2 separate regions of the Homo sapiens genome follow, and region 2 is linked to region 1. The links are contacts of gene promoters, found by promoter capture Hi-C in blood cells and fetal thymus (Javierre and others, 2016). All regions are on one chromosome and are shown on one strand. Each heading gives the region's core, a stretch centred on a gene start or on the middle of the fragment in contact. The rest is flanking DNA. Distances are from core to core; before and after follow the strand shown. Region 1 holds the start of SQLE (squalene epoxidase). Region 2 overlaps FAM91A1 (family with sequence similarity 91 member A1).

Region 1 (5,550 bases), core at 1-2,500:
AGTGAACCCAATCCTACTCCTAAATAAGACATTCATCTGCCCGCTTTGAAATCAACCTACCCTCCTGGCCTCGAGCTGCTCCTTATTTTCTGATTCAGGGGGGGATTTGGCCCAGAAGAAGCCAATGAAAGGCAGGCCTGAGAGAATATCCGAGAAGAGGGCGAACTGGGAGCCGCTCTGCTGGCGCCCGAGGAGACCCCCGTTTCGGTGGCGACAGCGGTAGGAGAGCACCAGGCCCAGCGAGAGGAACACCAGCACGCACAACAGGACCTCCCTGTTGGCCAAAGTGATGAAGTCCCCGAACTTCTTATAAAAATAGGTGAAAGTGGCAATGCCCAGAAAAGTCCACATGGTTCCAAGGCTTCTTTGGTGGCACCGGTCAAGGCGGAGATTATCTGCTCGAGTGGGTTTAAGGTTCTCCCCAAAATGAGGTACCAAGAGGAGCACGGAGAGCCGGCCAGACTCCAGTAAACAGTGTCCCAGGACGAGAAGTCCGATCAGACCAGTTTTTAAAAATCATATAAAGTTAGTGTAAAAGTATGTGAAGCCAAGTTGTATAGGGCGTAGAAAGCAGTATTTAAAAATCGCCTGCTGGAACAGCTCCCGAGCAGACTCGCTCCTCCTCGCCCAGGAAATCCAGATATTCCCTTTTTTTCTTTTTTGATGGTGTTCCCTGAGCGGTTGCTGCGGGTGATGGATACTCTTCTGATACTGGCTCTTCGTGCTATAATTTCTTTTCTCACCAAGAGCAGGTGCCCTTTCAGAAGGGAATGGGAGTGGAGGGAGGGTCACAGAAACACCTCGGCACTGGGGGAAACGTGGCCTAGCCTCTGGCGACGGCGAGCAGCGGCCGGAAGGCACGGGGGCTGCGGGCCGGCGCGGGTTCAGAGGCTTCTTTTTCCGCGGACGGAGACACTGTACAGCCCAACCTCGGGAAAACGCCAACGCCGACGCCTTCTCCAACAAAAGATGGCCTCGGACTCAAGAGTGCGGCTCCAGGGCAATGCAGCCCCAACCTAAAGATTTAGAGGCCTCCCGTTTCGCTGGCCCCCAGAGCCGCCCACCGCGACTGCACTTCCCCACCGATAAAAGGTGGTTTCCAGGGTACCTCCCTCAGATGGCGGCGGCGGCTCCCGACGGCTTCCTCACCAGCATCCCTCGCGGGCGGCGGCTCTCGCCAGCGCGGCGCGGCCCCAGTAACCAGAGTAACCGTCGCACGCCCCCACTCGCCGCCAGGCTCCACGCGTCTCAGCCAGCTGGGCGGGCTCGGCCCAGACGAGGGACCGGGGGCGGGGCTCAGGCGCGAGTCCGCCCATACCGCGCGCCCCGCGTGCTGCCCCGCCCCCTACCCCTGCTCCTGCCGCCGCCGGCCAATGAGGGCGCGCACCGCGCGGTAGGCCGAGATGGCGCTATGCCGCGTTTGGCCAATCGGAGGCGGCGCAACCTGCGCGGCGACGCCCCGAAAGGCGCTAGGGCGATGTTGCGTGGTGCGGGTTGGGGCGTGGGGATGGGCGCGGGCCGGCTCCGGCGTGGGTGGGGCCAGGGGTCGCCTAGGAGGCGCTCTGGGGCCGGGATCGGCGTCGGGGTCGGGGTTGGGGTTGGTTCACCGCAGCAGCCCCAGCTCCTGCGCCCTCCCTGGACTGAGGTGTGCTCGCTTTGAGGAGAAGCCTGGAGTGATCCGCTGCCTCGGGTCGGAACGTTTCCATTCATTCCGCTAGCATTTATTGAGCGCTTATGATATGTCAGTCCCCGGAGTCCGAAAGAGGAATCAGACACAGCTTCCCTGCCCTGTGTATGTGGAGAGGGCGGAAGGGAGGGCCATGAGTGCGTGGAGAGCCTGACATTCCAGCTGAAGCTGGAAGAATGAGTAGGCTTTTGCCTTAAGAAGAAAAGGAGAGGACGCTCCAGGTGCTCAGGCTAGAGATACACGGATGCGCCCAGCCCGTTCTCTCAAGACCAGAAACGTTGGGGGTGGGGGCTCGGAGGCAAAGAAGTCAAATAGTCGTGTCATAGGTGTCCTGAGAAGGGGGTGGTTAGAGAGGGAGCCATGGAAACCCAAGAGGTGGTCCTTCCCTTGGCCTGGAGAAGTCTGGTGAGGCGCCCAGGGGGAGGTTACACGGTGTCCAGGACAAGCAGTCCGAGGGAGCAAAAGTGTGCAAAAGTCTCGGAGTGAGACAGCCCTTATTCTACTACGATGAAACTTACCTAAAATTTATTGAGGCTTAAGACCTCAGTGTCTTTGCTCATCCTGTTTCTTAACTCTGGACTTCCTTCTTTAACCCCTATGATAATAGGTGCAAATCCCTTCTGCCTTTTGGAGCGTGGCTGCATTGTCACCTCTTCCACCAAATCGCCATTGACCTTCACCAAGTCACATAACTTTATTCATACTTTTTAATCTCTAGATTCCCTAAAGATCTGTGTCTGATAAGATCACCCACAGCACCTAGCACAATGCTCTGCCCTTAATTTATCCTCCATAACATGTATTTAATGAATGATGAACGACACTGGCGCATAAAAGCAAGACTAGGCAACTAGAGTTAGGAGACCCAGATTCTGGCTACCGCTAACCAGACTGTGACCTTTTACAGATGTTACAAGTCACTCTGCCTCTGTGGGGAGAAGGCAACTTCTTCATGAACTCGAACATCCTTTGCAATTCTGTATCAGATACTTGGCAGGGTTTAAAAAAACATGGCACCTCTTATAACTTTTCACCCCCAATATTATGTTTTATCTGCTAATAAAATAATTATTTGGTAAAACACCCGCACAGGCGTTCACTTGACCCTCAAAACAACTTTGATTTTTAAAATGAGGAAAATGAAAATTAAAGAGGTTAAATGGCTTGACTAAATCACAGCTGTGATTAAATCGTAATGATGAAACCAAAAGTCAAAGTCCTGGTCTCCAAATCTTGTGGTTCCCCAGTATGCATAATTATCAATAACTGCCTTGCTTTCCAATACTTTTATTCTTTCTTCTACAATATTCCTCACTGTTACCAGTAAGTTTGGCTGTCTGAACTGACATCAAATTTAAAAGGACTGCAGAAAAGAGAATCAGTTCAATGTATGGGAAATCATTTCCTGAAGAGAATTCTTCAATAAACTGCTTATTGGTATCTGTGAGTTCTGTTTTGTTAAAATAATAGAGGAGCAGCTGACTCTTTTATTATTTTTAAATTTTTGTGACAGAGTCTCGCTCTGTGGCCCAGGCTGGAGTGCAGTGGCGCAATCTCAGCTCACTGCAACCTCTGCCTCCTAGCTTCAAGCGATTCTCAAGCCTCAGCCTCCCGGGTAGCTGGGACTAGAGGCACGTGCCACCATGCCGGCTAATTTTTGTATTTTTAGTAGAGACAGTGTTTCACCATGTTGGCGAGGCTGGTCTCAAACTCCTGACCTCAAGTGATCCTCCCGCCTGAGCCTTCCAAAGTGCTAGGATTACAGGCATGAACCACCAAGCCCGGCCAACTGACTCTTACAGATGGGAATACAGTTATCACCAGGATGGCTGTTACCTGCTAACTCTGTACTCAAGATTATCATAAAAGGAATTTTTCTTATTAAGTAGATAATTTTTTAATCTCTGGAAAGCGACTTTCTTCATATGTTTTTATCTTCACAAAGTCATTCTTACAATGTCAGGTCTGAATCCTTTAGGCAGTTCAAGATCCACTTCTGAATTTGGGGCAAAAAGAGCACTTGTAATACCTACCGCAGAGCACACTCTGAATGCCTATATCTTCTGAACTGAATTAAATGTTATATAAGCATTGCTTAAGTATTTTTGAATCTTGCCATGGTTCATTTATTCAAAAACAAATCTGTCATTGAGACCTGAAGGGAAAGCAATGAAATGTGAGACAAAATCAGCTGCTTACTGGCAGAAAGCCATAATGCTATCAAGTAGGTACATGAGAAATACTTTCGTACAAGAGCTCACACATATAGTACGGGTAGCATTCTAAATACTTTTCATATATTAGCTCGTTTTGGCTTCCTGACAACACTTTTAGGGAGATACTACTTTTTTTTTTTTTTTTTTTTTTTGGAGATGGAGTCTCGCTCTTTCACCCAGGCTGGAATGCCGTGGCCTGATCTCGGCTCACTGCAACCTCCGCCTCCCGGGGATCAAGCGATTCTCCTGCCTCAGCCTCCCGAGTAGCTGGGACTACAGGCGCAGGCTGCTACGCCCGGCTAATTTTTGTATTTTAGTAGAGATGGGGTTTCACTGTGTTGGCCAGGCTGGTCTCCAACTCCTGAGCTGAGGCAATCCGCCCGCCTCGGCCTCCCCAAGTGCCAGGATTACAGGCGTGAGCCACCACACCCAGCTAAGATACTATTTTTTTAGCCCCATTTTACAGACAAGAAAACTCATGCACAGGGAAGTGATCACAGCTAGTGACTAGCAGAGTCTGAATCCAAGCCCAGAAAATGTATGTGAGGAATTTAGGAATGTGTGACTTGATTTTTCTCCCCACACAAAGACCTAGTTATCTTGAAACAAACAAGCACATCTGATCTCTTTTTTGCTTAAGCTTTTGAGTTTTCACTGTTAGCCTAGTTTGGCACACCAGGCTAGATTTGTGTTTTAAGTGCCATTCTCAATGCAAGAAAAAGTCCCGCCCAGCTTTCCTCAACTACCCATGCTTTGAGACCTCAGATTAATCATCTTTTTTTTCCTCAAGTTTTCATAATTCCACCTCTGTTGTAGCAGTCACTCACCAATTTGTACTATAATTATCTACTCACAATGCCTTTTCCAAGTTGTCGAAAAAGAGCTCAAGAGAGGGTTCTGAGATCTCATGCAAAAAGGAATTCAAGGCTAGTAGCAGAGCGCAGTGAGAAGAGAGTTTATTAAAAGCTACTCCATTACAAAGTAGGGCATCCCCAGAGAGTAAGAGGAGGCACGTCTTGTCTGTAAGTTTTCCTTATACAGAGGTCTTATCTATGTAAAAAGCTAAGCTGTGTCTACATGTCGGTGAGCAGACAGCATTACAAATTATTCTATTGATTTAAAGATAACTATCCTTGACATTCTAGTGTGTGAATACATCAAAGCTTAACTGTAATTATCTTGAAAACATAGATTGTTATGGGTATTGGGACATGTGGGCTTTCTGCTTTTGTAGGAGTGTGTCCTTGTAGTAGGTATCTTTAGGCTGTTTCCTCAACTATAAACGTGTTATGATTATGGGTTGTGACCGAAAAGGAATGTGCCTTGTTAGTCTCAAGATGGAGTTGATTTTTAAAGTGGTGCCACTCTGGCTCTCCTAGGCTCCTGCTTCCCTAACACAAGGGATTCAACTCCTCAAGACAAGGACCATGTCTTATTCACAGTTGTATACTCAGTATTTGGCATATGGTAAGCATTTCCTCAATGTATTGAATACAATCTTTCTTTTTAAAAATGTTATCCCATTGTTTTGGTAGCAAACGAAATAATTGTCTTCTCAAAATTTTCTTTATTTTTTATTTTTTATTTTTTTATTTGAGACAAGGTCTTGCTCTGTCATCCCAGTTGGAGTGCAGTGGCACAAACATA
Region 2 (5,550 bases), core at 1,289-3,788, 1.2 Mb after region 1:
AACATGAAAAAATAATGCACCAGTATGTTAAGTGAAAATGAGAACATACAATTCTATGAGATTACTGAACACATGTAAAAACAGCTACACACTGAACAAGGATTAAAAGGTAACAAAAATTTATAAAAATATTGATTTGATTTGGGATTGTTAGAAATTTACCTTGGGTTTCTATTATTTTAGTGTAGTATGTACACCAAATACAAAAATGAGAATAAAGAATTTAAGTAAAACCAATGTACTATGTTAAAATGTAATAACGAAGCAATATTTTTCTTGAAATATCCTAACATCTAAGATCCTAGAACGGATGATATGCAATGCTTAGCACCTGATATCCATTCAAAAAACAGTGAAAAATGTTAGCACGGACTTACCTGCTATACAACTGTCATCAGATATTGGTACATCCAGATAAATAAATCCTTTGTTATACAAACCTGAAGAAACAAAAGTACCTTGTTTTAGATGGAACACTACACAACAGTGATTTTTTTAAAAAAACTAATTCCTGGCTTTCTGTAAAGATTCTTACAAATGAATGCTATGTGACGAAAGAAAAAGTAAAATAGAAGAGAAAAAGAATTAAAGTTTTTAAATCTCGGTTTCCTGCATATACTCTGAAGTACAAAATTTTTCTTATCATTCAGTTGCATAAATTTCTAGTGTATGTGACTAATTATAGCCACACTGGAAAACAAAAGACTAAGGTCACATTTCAAACAATAACATGCCTTAGAAACTAGTACTATTTGTACCTACTTGATAAGTAATTGCTAGTAATTATTGATGGTTTAAAACAAGTTTTTATGTTGACAAAAGACCATTTCTACTAACCACTTACTATGTACTACATTGTAATCTAGTGATCCAGAGAGTTGAGGGCCTGAATCGATGATCTTATCAACAGCGCATTTCTCAGGCAAAGTGCATATCTAAGAAAAGCAAAATATTTTTAATTAAGTTCTGTCCAAATTAACTAATTCACAAGTCTCCTGAAATTTATTTATGTTGAAACCAGTGATTACATGTCATTAGCTCAATGAACTACATATTTATCACTCTATAATTCAAACAAAAAACTGTGCACATAGCCATCAATTAAGGTGCCAAAATATGCAACATACCAACAGAATGTAGAGAACAAACTTACTGTAAGTACCAACATTTGCTAGTTAGTAATATTTGTTCCTTGTGATTGAATTGGAATTAGATCCATCTGCCAATTCAGAATCTCTCTAGCCAGAAATTTAGTCAAACTCTACATGAATATTGTCAGTAACAGGAAAGTTCACTAGCTTATTATGATACAGTTTGAGAGTTCCATTAAGAGGTACTTTAGACTGAAGTAAAATTTCTAAGCCTTCCACTCAATGGATTTAGTACGTACCCTGGAGAAAATTAAATGCAGACCAAAAAGAAGCCCACATACTCATTTCCATTGCTTCAGCTACGCATAAATACAACCTGGTCTCTAGGTGCCCTCATTACTCCACCCCTTTCCTCTAAACCAATATCCCTTCTAAGATGTGGTCTGACCACTGGGAATATCAACTCTCTTGATCTTGACACTATCGCCCCATAAAAGCACCTATCACTTCAGTACAACAGTTCTTTGCAGTGATTAAGAGTACAAGTTTCATGGTGAACTGCCAAAAAATCCTGGACCTTTACTACCACTAAGACATGAGCTGTTACTTAATTGTTCTGTGCTCACTTTCCTCATCTGTGAAATGGGGGTACAAATAATACATACCTCTGGGGCTGTTATGAGAATTAAGTAAGACAATATAAAAAGCACTTGTAATAGAGCTTGGCACATCTAGCACACAGCAGGTATTCAAAAGTGTTAGCCAGTATTATTGTTGTAGGTAGCTGTGGCATCATGTTACTTTACACGAAGCTTCTATCTAATTAACATCCCCAGATAACTGTACTTGAACCAAGTCAAGTCTCCCTCACCATTAAAGAGTATCTCAAAAACTCACCAATATTCTAGTCTACTAAGATCATTTTAAATTTTAAATTTAAGTTTCCTTTTCTTCAGGAAAACAATGTTACTTTTTAAAAAATTATAAGCTATAATTAAAAATTGTAAAATAAACTAAAAAATAAAAATTCTATGTTTAACTTTTAAAGATTTCTACCTTGATGTCATCTTCTGTGATATAGCCAGCCTGCACCACCCACCACGCCTCTATGGCAATTTCCACTGGCTTTATTGGTAGAAGATCACGGGCTGTTTTCCTTCTGAAGAATTTCTGCAATGGTACAAACATTTGAGAATTTGCAATCTAAAACTACCACTTTCTTCTTTCATCAATCATATCATAAGATTGTTTCTAATGGACTAAATAAATATCTTCTTAAAATCTTCATGTTTTAAAATCTTAACAATTCTAGATATTAACATATTGTATGAAGAAAGTCATTCTTAAATTGTTTCAAAATAAATTGTTTCAAAACACTAATTGTTAAATCCAGATTTACTTCCACAAACTCAAGTGAAACCCAAGCAGTGAAAAATGCATTTGAAAATGCAAACACTTTTTTCACCCACTAAGTGAACTGTACAAGTAGAATGAGCAAATAAAAAGACTAAGAGAACAAAAATAATTTTTAAAAATAAATGTTTTATGCATTAAAAATTTTAAATAATCATTTATGCTATAACCTAGAGAATACTGAGGAGTTTTTTTTGTATTGTTTCTGTGTTAAGTACATTTTATTTGGTCAAAGACATACAATTCATTATTTCTACCACTTAAAAAAACTAATCAAACTGTGTGATGAGGCCAAAACAATGAAAAAGAAAGTACTAACTTACTTTTGATGATCTACACTGATTCATAAGATCAATATACTGGTTTCTTCCTATGCCAAGAAGCCTTAGACCTGAAAAAAAGAGTCTTTCCTTTAAAAACATTTAACATATCTTGAAATCTCAATATGTTCACAAGCGATTGTAGGAAAAACCCGAGCTTATTTTCATCTTTCAATTACTAGTCAAATATCAATATCAAATTAAAAGGACGTCTTCAACCAAAACATAAATGAAAGCTAAACTTTGGGAGAGATGAATTCAAGATGACACTTCTAACAAAAACATTTTAAAAAAGCAGAAGTCCTGCCAATTTTAGGAAGTCAAAATGTAATTCTCAGCGAAAGCTTCTTAAACAACAGAATTATGACACATTCAAAATATACACTTTGCCAAAGTAAGCATACTAAAACAGCAGCAAGTTAAGTTACTAAAAACTGTATGTCACCCTGCAAAAATACTGTGCACAAGTTTTCCTCCCACATTCAATATACACACAGCCCAAGTATCAGAAAGAACTTCATTCTCTGGAAATATATAGATTAGTCTTATTTTTCTGATTCTACCACTCTCAAATATGCCTCTCTTAGACATTTAGAGTAAATCTTACACATGCATCTGGTATCATCTGATAAAATTCTCACTGATAATGTTGCTTACTGTTCTCATTTTTCACATATTTCAGGTTAAAAACACACATGACAATATTCACAGATGACAGGATGCACAAAGACACAACCTAAACATTACCTTCTTCAGCACAATTAAATACTTACAGTCAGCAGCAGTAAAATTGGGCAATGAATCATAACTTTTCTCACTGTTCATAATATCCTTTTAAAAAGAAAAAAATTTAAATTTGAAATCTAAAATGTCCTTAAATAAAAATGTGTATAAATACAATATTATTACAGCCAATAACAATGATTATTACAGGAAGCAGTAAGATCATAGTTTGGCTACCTAGAGCATACATGCCACCCTGTGGCACTTTCCACACATGTTCCCAACCTAGTAATTAAAGGGCAGATTTTCAGGTCTAGGTTTCTTAAGAGGCTCTCTACGAATCCCAGGCAGCTGCCCCATAACCTCTGCCCTGTGGAAGCTATGTAAGTAATGGCTCCATTAGAGCTCAGGGTTCCAGCCTCTCCACATTTCATACCTGATCCTAGATCTCCACCATGAGAGAAAGCCAAATAATGTGGCACAGCTCCATCAACATGCACTACCAATGAAGACTACAACCACTTAGTGGCCTTTGATCCCACAAGTCCCAATCTGTAGAAGAGCTAAACTTGGTATCCAGCTTTTTCTGCCCCAATCTGTTTCTCCAATAACAAACCCACTGCTTCCTGTGGGGATAAGGCCCGTTTTCTACCGAGGAACTATACCCAATGATAGAATAACAGAAACCAGAATGCAGCAACCATGTGGATGTAACTGAAATGAAAGCTGATAAGTGAAACAAAAACTCCACCTATTTTAGCTCCCAAATTTGTGGACTACACTAGAAAAATAAAGAGACAGCAGTAACTATTCTACTTCCTGATTAGCTGCCACCTTCATTATGCTACCCTGGTTCTTCACTATGCTACCTGGGCTATCGGGCCTCTCGCTTTCCTCCAGTATTTCCTCCAAAAGAGGAACACGGGATGCATGGGACTGCAGAAGCACCCATGAAGGAGGGGCTTCTGGAGATAACGAAGGGAGCAAACAGCAAAGCACACATCGTATGTAGGGCTAACCTCATGTTACCACACGTTCCCAACTCCTTTAGTTCTAGGCTCCTCTCTGCTCTTCAAGCGGCTAGTGAGCCCCAAACAGAAGCACTCAAACATAATTAAGGAGCAAATGAATACTAAATAAATACTGCCAATCTTTAATAAAGCTCACTTGAAAACAGTATATAACTAGTATTAAAGTTATCCAATACAAGCCTAAAAGCTGTCTTTGGAAAAAGGCTAACAACTAAAAGTTAATAATTATAGAAAGAGATTAACAGCCAAGACTACTAACATATTTCTCTTTTCTGGCACCTGTATTATATAATGTTGGGTCTATGTCATCATTCATTCTTTAGACAGTTAGTGAATAGTTAAATACATTAATTTTCTTTTCTTTTCTTTTTTTTCTTTTGAGACAGTCTCACTGTGTCACCCAGGCTGGAGTGCAGTGGCGCTATCTCGGCTCACTGCAACCTCCACCTCCCAGGTTCAAGCGATTCTCCCCCCTCAGCCTCCTGAGTAGCTAGGATTACAGGTGCACACCACCACGGCTGGCTAATTTTTGTACTTTTAGTAGAGACGGGGTTTCACCATGTTGGCCAGGATGGTCTTGATCTCCTGACCTCATGATCCACCCACCTTGGCCTCCCAAAGTGCTGGGATTACAGGCGTGAACCACTGCTCCCAGCCTAAATACATTAATTTTCTCAGAACATAATGTTCAATTCTGTCACCCACATTTTCAACCTTAATCACGTTTTAAAAAGCAATAAATTTTACACAGACTCTGCCAACATAAATGACTGATCAGTACTACAACAGCACAAAGGGTCAATAGCACCTTCAAGACCAGAAGAGAAATAGACAGCTTCCCAATGTAAAAACATCAATAAGGATAAGTACTTGTACAGTGTGGCTCAAACAGTTAACAAGCCACCAATAGTCCTTTTTACACTATAAGTTCTGAAAGAGTGTCCACCGCAGACGACAGCTGAAGAGCTGGTG

The links. Contacts are between HindIII fragments. The CHiCAGO score rates a contact against its expected background, and 5 or more counts as called.
Region 2: a contact is called between a fragment that was not itself captured here and the fragment with the promoter of SQLE in region 1, in 1 of 17 cell types (monocytes). The highest score is 7.1, in monocytes.

What each region holds. Positions count from the first base shown.
Region 1 is chr8:124,994,205-124,999,754 of GRCh38, reverse strand. SQLE (squalene epoxidase) reads right to left here and starts at 1,250. Exons shown (of 11, transcript NM_003129.4): 1 at 61-1,250. The coding sequence starts at 351. It overlaps SQLE-DT (SQLE divergent transcript), which reads left to right and starts at 1,557. Exons shown (of 2, transcript NR_134457.1): 1 at 1,557-1,792; 2 at 2,595-2,767. RefSeq lists enhancers at 890-939, 1,870-1,929 and a silencer at 1,150-1,649. The HindIII fragment of the contact is 7,996 bases long and covers 1-4,545 here.
Region 2 is chr8:123,775,370-123,780,919 of GRCh38, reverse strand. It overlaps FAM91A1 (family with sequence similarity 91 member A1), which reads right to left. Exons shown (of 24, transcript NM_144963.4): 4 at 3,598-3,655; 5 at 2,828-2,895; 6 at 2,148-2,261; 7 at 845-935; 8 at 378-440. Among named protein-coding and RNA genes, the nearest start is that of FAM91A1, 9.7 kb to the right of the region's middle. The HindIII fragment of the contact is 1,265 bases long and covers 1,906-3,170 here.